Regions from separate parts of the Homo sapiens genome. Here region 2 is linked to region 1. The links are contacts of gene promoters, found by promoter capture Hi-C in human tissues and cell types (Jung and others, 2019). All regions are on one chromosome and are shown on one strand. The core of a region is centred on a gene start or on the middle of the fragment in contact, and the rest is flanking DNA. Distances in the headings are between cores, read along the strand shown. Region 1 holds the start of TXNRD1 (thioredoxin reductase 1). Region 2 has its middle 160 kb from the start of SLC41A2.

Region 1 (3,539 bases), core at 711-3,210:
ACTAGGGAGGCTGAGGCAGAAGAATAGCGTGAACCCGGGAGGCGGAGCTTGCAGTGAGCCGAGATCGTGCCACTGCACTCCAGTCTGGGCAACAGAGCGAGACTCCATCTCCAAAAAAAAAAAAAAAAAAAGCCTTTGGTTCAGTTTTATTTGTTTTCTGTGTTTAAGCAAATAAACACCCAGTGTTTTCCAAGAGCATTTTGACTCTGGGCTGCTCTCCAGAGAAGCAGGATATAAGCTTGTCCACAAACCCAAATGAAAACAAAGGGCCCACACAATTGCCACGCATCTGGTGACCAGACAAGTTCACTAAATCTCAGCTGGGGTGGAAGTTCCTTGAGACCAGGGAATTTGAGTCACCTTGTAACCCTAAACAAAGCCAGGCATAAGTTGGATGCTTACCATATGTTAGTTAATTGAAAGAAGGAAAAACAGAGCACTGCACTGATAGAGAACAGTGACTGTGCACCTGATGTGCCGCAATGTGGTTTGGTGTTAAAAAAAATCACTCTCATTCATTACTAGTAGGAGTTCAAATGGGAACCACAGTTCCAAAAAAGCAATTTTGGCAACGTGTAATGACAGCCTTAAAACTATAAACACAAAGATGTTCCCTGCAGCCTTATTCATAATTTTTAAAAATAAAAAACAAACTAAACATCTAATAATAGGCTATGTAATCGTCCAGTAGCTCTAGTGGATGGACTATTACATTATTATAATTATTCAAATTAATATTTTCCCGCTTCTTCCCTGCTTTCCTTCAAGAGGTGGGGGAGGCCACCTGGCCCAAGCTGAAGGCCAAGATACAAGAAAAAAATGCAAAGGTTCTATTTTGGCAGCGTTTACATGGGCAGGGTGTCGTGGGGAGGCTGGCGGAGGGAGTGGGAGCAGGTGACAGAGAATATAGGGTAAGTTAGAAGGCTCTCAGTGCTGGTAAAAATAAAATAGAGTAAAGTAAAGGGTGGGGGTAGAGTTGAGGGGGGCGTGATCAGATTTCTGTTCAAATAGGATGGTCTTTTTGCTGTGAACTTAAGACTGCTCTAAGGCCAGGCGCAGTGGCTGACGCCTGTAATCCCAGCACTTTGGGAGGCCGAGGCGGGCGGATCACAAGGTCAGGAGATCGAGACCATCCTGCCTAACACGGTGAAACCCCGTCTCTACTAAAAATACAAAAAATTAGCTGGGCATGGTGGCACACGCCTGTAGTCCCAGCTACTCGGGAGGCTGAGGCAGGAGAATCGCTTGAACTTGGGAGGCAGAGGTTGCAGTGGGCTGAGATCGCGCCACTGCACTCCAGCCTGGGTGACAGAGTGAGACTCCGTCTCAAAAAAAAAAAAAAAAAAAGACTGCTCTAAAAAATAAAGTGTATTAAAAAGAAACTACGATGTTCAGTGTATGCTTCATCTACGGTCAAAGAGGCAAAGACTGAAGTGACAGTGGAAGCCAGGTGGTTATCTGGGAGGCTTACAAGACTATGTGATAGTATGGAAAATACTAGTATTAAGTGAAATGCTGGATGCAAAACTATGCATAGAGGGGAAAAACTGGAAAGAAATAGTAAACACAGCAAAAGTAGTTTGTGTGAAGGATAAATTTTTTAAAATTATTTTTTGTAGAAACAGGGTTTCTCTACATTGCCCAGGATGGTCTCAAACTCCTGGGCTCAAGCGATCAATCCTCCCACCTCGGCCTCCCAAAGTGCACAGGTGTAAGCCACCGCGCCCAGCCGAAGGATAAGGATTTTGGGTGGTGCGCTCTTTTCTCCTTTCCATTTCTGCATTTTCCAATTTACCTTTAGCGACCGTTCTTTCCTGTTAAAAAAAAAAAATTCACGACCTTGAAGAAGATACACGGGCTATGACTTCGCTGTTGTCACCGAGCGCCCCGCCCACCGCGTTCTCCGACCCGCGGCCGGCAGGGGGCTCGCGGCCTCCGCCAGGCGTCCTTCGGCTCCGTCAGTTCCCACAGGGCCTTGTGCGACATGGGCTGCGCCGAGGGCAAGGCAGTGGCGGCGGCCGCCCCAACGGAGCTGCAGACGAAAGGCAAGAACGGCGATGGCCGCCGTAGGTCAGGTACGACCGAGGGCGAAGGCCTGGTCCCCAGGTCGACGGGCCGAAGCGGGCCTTCCGGCCGGGGTTGGGGATAAAGTGCCCCGGAGCCCTGGCCTTGAAGCCCCTCACTGGAGTCAGTGACTGACCGCGCGCCACGCTGGAGACCCCAGAAACGCTCCCCCAGGTCACCCCGGGAGACGGAGGCCGGCGGCCGGCCGAGGGCTGCCCCGCCCGCTGGCTGTGAGAGAGGTGGGAGGTGGAAGGAGGAGCGGGCCCGCCGCGAGGACCTGCCCGGAAACCTGTCGGAAACCGAACCGAGATCTCGGCAGCGACCCGCCTGATTTCGCTCAGGGCCCGTTAGGGCGTCCTCTTCCTACAAGCACCGTGTTTCCAATGAAAGGTTACGGGGGAAGCGACCAAACCGACAGCCGAGTCCGGGGGTGCCCCTTCACCTCTCCAGAAGCCCCCGGCCCACTCCCAGCATCCTCCTCCATCGAGAATCTTGTCCGACACGCCTTCCCGGCCCCCTTTCTCCATCCCCTTGAATTTTGGGCACATTTCTCCCACCATCATCCCGCTTTATCCTTTCACTTGTTCTTCCAGAAGAGAAAGCTCCCAGTCTCTTCTCCATTGTCCGGATAATGCCAATAATGGCTAGTGGTTACTAAGCACTGACATGAGAGGGGCCTTTGGAAGCACTAGACATGGGTAATAATCTTGGTTCATGTTTCCAGCCATACTGAGAGATTTATCATAAACCCCATTATACAGATGAAGAAACTGAGAAGCAAAGAGGTTATAAAACTTACCCAAAGCACACAACTAGTAAGTGGAAGAGCTGGGATACCAGTTGAGGCCATCTGACTCAAAAGCCCTGGTCATAGTCATATGGCCGCCTCCACCTTTTTTATAGGCTTGAGAAAGTGAGGCTCCAAAAAGTGCCTTGCCCAATGGCTAGAATTATTAAATGCTGTAGGATCTGCCTCTTTCAAAGGCTTACAGTTTAGTTACAAGGCAGCATATGGTGAAGGGCTAAAAGGAGTGGTAAAAACAGCCAAGTGGGGATGGCAGCTCCCATAGATGAGGTAGGATTTGGTAGAGGTGTCTGAAGGGAGAACATTCTTGTTAGGGGAAGCAGCCGGTGAGACCATGCTAGAGATAGGGAGGCCTGTATATCCTGCTGGAGTTAAGGACTTGGATTAGGGGAAGGGAAGAATAAAGGAACAGGGTAGGAGCAAGGTCAGGCAAGGTCCAGGTCAGGCAGCTAATTTGTGGCCATTAGTACAATGAAGGAGTTTGAGCAGGTGCATCCCAAATTGACGTTTCATGTGCCATCCTCAGGATCTTCTTGATATCTATGTCCTTCCATTTATTTACTGTTTTTCTTTAGCTACATTCTTTTTGTGTGTGGTTAAAAAAAAAAAATTTACCATCTTAACAATTTTGTTTTTTTTTTTTTTTTAGTTTCGCTCTCGTTGCCCAGGC
Region 2 (3,601 bases), core at 82-2,581, 580 kb after region 1:
TGGCCCACTGGCTGAAATTTGCCAAACTTTGCTATAAATCATGCAGCAAAGGGCCCAGCCTTTACTTGCCTAGTAATGGTGAAATTACAAGATAGGATGACAAGTGCATTTGTAATTTTGTTATATATGGCTAGATTCCCCACTATAGAGCTTTTATTCTGCTCTACCACCAGCAATTTTGTCTCCCTACAGCCTTGCCAAGAGAATGTTTTATCCAGTTTTGAATTTTTGCCAATCTGATAGGTAAGTAGTATCTCAGTGTGATTTTAATTAGCATTTTTTTGAGTGGTATTAAATTTTTTTTTCTGTGAACCATCTCTCCTCTGGTTATTTTACTATTGGGTTGCTGGTATTTTTTCCCTTGATTTATAAAAGTTCTTTGTTTGCCAAGGAGATTAACCTTCAATATGTATTCTGCATTTGTTGGATAAAGTGTTCTACAGATGTCAATTAGGTCAAGGTGGATGAGAGTGTTCAAATGCTTGAGATACCTAGTCGTCATTCAAGTAGAGTTGTCTGGCAGGTATTTGGAAATACAGATTTAAAACTCAGTTGAGAGGTTGGGACTAGACAGTTTTGGAATAATCAGTACAGATGATATTTATAACAATAAGATGGGTAAGATCACATCGGGAAAGAAAGTAGATAGAGAAGAGATGATAAAACTGAGCCCTAGAGCATTCCAACATTTAGAGATTGAGAACAAGAGAAGCGACCAGCAAAACAAACTGAGAAGGGGCTTTTAGTAGGGTAAGGAAAGAAAGCGAAGGGCAGACTTTTGGAAGCAAAGTAAAGAAAATATTTCAAGATGGAAGGAGATTCTGTTAAATGACTTTAGAGATTAAATAAGGTAAGAATTCTTATTAGAAATTGATCATTGGATTTGGCAATGTGGAGGCTATTGGTGACTTTGACAGTGAAGATATGTTTTTGGTAAGGAAGTTTAAGAGGAAGAGAATAATTTTGTATAAGAAAGAATCTTGAGTGGCATATTTTTGTCCTAACATCAAATGACTGGTTATTTAAGAAAGACGAAGTAGAGGACAAAGCAAAAAAGCTAAGCATATCGAGTGTCTGAGTAAATCATGATAAGGTTTGTGAAGAATGAATTTATAAAAGCAATTTTTGTGTGATCATGTTGGTTACAATTAGAAGGGAATTATTTGTAAGTTTTTCTAAAGATTGAACTTTGATATTAAAAATACACTAATACAAAATTAAATTTTTGGTCCCCTATGCTAGAATAGCCAGGTTTTCTCAAATTTTTGATCTGCTCTTAGCAAAAATTACAAGACATTTTTATTTTTAATTCTAAAATCTGTTTCTTTAGCAGGCATTTTCTAAACTGTACAGTTTCTATTTCTGCCACATTTCTTCCTGACATTCATTTAATGTCCCTAGTTTCAGGCTGAAAATGCTGTCTTCATTCAGGTTGGTAATTTCATTTAACAAGGTAGAGTTTTCCTGTTGAAGCTTCTCAGATCTATTTCTCAGAAGTTCGACTTTGGCTCTATCTTGCGACATGTGATTTGCAGGTCATAACATCTTGCCTCCTGTTCTTCTTTCTCTACTTGAGAAGGACTGAGATGATCTCTCTCTCCTTCAACTTTTTTGTCATTCCTTAACTTTTTTCTCCAGCTCCAACTCTGTCGTTATAACCTGACAGTAAAATGCTTATCCTGAAGGCCTGGAAAATCAGTGTTTTCTTCTAGTATAACTTAATTCTGTTGGCTTTTCTTAATGTGTCTGAATTGTTCCATGTAACCAGGAAACTTCTGATGATGTTAGTAAGAGACATATATTCCCCTGCTCAAGGTACTAGTTTTCTTGTTTATATTTCTCTATAATATGGTATACATTCATAACCTTGGGCACACTCTTCCTGTGTCTGATTAAGTTCAAGTACCCTTTCATGAGGTTTGACTTCCAGATTATCTAAATAGGCTTCCCATAAGGAGAAGCAGTTACACTGGAGGAGGTTTTTATTTTTGGTAACTGGCCTAAAAAGCAAATATTTTATATTTACCAAGATAATTTCCTGTTGTTATCTTTATTTTTATTATTATGTAGAAAAATTGAGCTTTGAAAAAGTTGCTTTTTTTTTTTACATTTATGAAACTTTATTGCTTTTGAAGTCTTTGGATTATCACTCTGGTTAAATGAATGGCTATTATTTCACAGTGACCTGCGATCCTGTTTTGATCAAGTATTTTGAACTTTTTGGCATCTTTGGCAGGCTTCTCCAGGATCAACATTCTAAATTAAATCTTTTTGACCTAGAATTAACTTCAGGATTTTCCATGTGGGCCACTGGAGAGCCTCAAAGGATGTATCTTTCATCTTGTAGAGATATTAAGTGACTAGGCTTGTTTGTACGGGAAGTATTGTCAAATGATAAGTGATGCTAGGTTTTCTTTCAGTTACATTTATGGGTATGTTATTGATATGAATGTCCCCAACTGTACAAAACTCTTAGAAATCTAATATCTTATTGGCCATAATTCTGGTTATTATATTGTATGCCATAAAATAACCAAATTTCCTTGTCAATTGCTGATTGTAATGAATCAAAGTCAGATTCTTAACCATGGCTATTTTAAGTCTCTGTCATTCACAATTATTGTTTTGATTTTTCTCCAAAAGCATTTGCAATTAGTTTCATGAAAAATACTCTAACAACTACTCTTAAATACAGGTTTCTAATAACTGTAAGATCAATGGACTACATAAAAAATTTTCAAAAATTTAATGAAGAAACTGATGGGTTCATAAAACAGATAAGATCAAGCAAAACAAAAATTAATTACATGAGATTAAGTAACTGATGAAGATGTTTTTATGTTTATTTGAAACATTATTGGTTCTTAAATGTTTTATTTTCCAGATTGAAGGAACTTTTTTTTTCTTAGTTATCCATAGTTTACAGAAATTTGGTAAAGTGTACTCGTGTGAACAAAGATGGAAGCAATTGCTTTTCTACCTACTTGATGCCTCCAAAATGTGGGAACTATTCATGGTTATTTGCATAAATTCAGTAAAAATCTGCTTTCTATAACTGGATACAATGAAAATACTGGTTATATTACCAAGGCTTTGAGTGAAATAGATTGGAGAATATGCATAGAATACCTGACTTCAAGGGTTCTCAGCCTTACGGTGAATAAAAACTCACTTCCTGGCAGGCTCAGGAGCCTTAGGACTGTAGGTAACATCTAAAGTCTTCCTTAGTTTGGTTTCCTAGCCTCAAGAGGTTTTTAAATCTGAGATTCCTGTGTGATCAACATAGGCAGAAATAGTTATATTTATAAAGAAAAAGCTATAATACATCTGCTATTAGATTATAGCTCTGTGCATTGTTTTCAGGTTCTTATTTACCTATAGAGTAGACTAGATCCTGAATTCTTTTATATTCCTTTAATCCAACTTTCTTCCATGGAATTACTAAAAACAGGAACTGCTCTGTTCCTAAATCTCTATAAGCTGAAATGATAAATTTTAAGGAACAAGTCTTGTGCCTGATGTATGAGCCACACAAAGAGTTCACCAAACTGCCTAATGCCATAACCAGAGACATTCAAACTGCAAACAGGATAAGAAATTG

What was found. The method cuts DNA at HindIII sites, captures the fragments that hold promoters and counts their contacts. A contact is called where the count stands out against the background at its distance.
Region 2: a fragment that was not itself captured here is called in contact with the fragment with the promoter of TXNRD1 in region 1 in 1 of the 25 tissues and cell types used here (heart left ventricle).

Annotation. Positions count from the first base shown.
Region 1 is chr12:104,213,819-104,217,357 of GRCh38, forward strand. TXNRD1 (thioredoxin reductase 1) reads left to right here and starts at 1,961. Exons shown (of 17, transcript NM_001093771.3): 1 at 1,961-2,075. The coding sequence starts at 1,985. RefSeq lists enhancers at 1,737-2,353, 2,354-2,969 and a silencer at 1,824-1,913. The HindIII fragment of the contact is 11,252 bases long and covers 1-3,539 here.
Region 2 is chr12:104,796,502-104,800,102 of GRCh38, forward strand. No RefSeq gene overlaps it. Among named protein-coding and RNA genes, the nearest start is that of SLC41A2, 160 kb to the right of the region's middle. The HindIII fragment of the contact is 7,020 bases long and covers 1-3,601 here.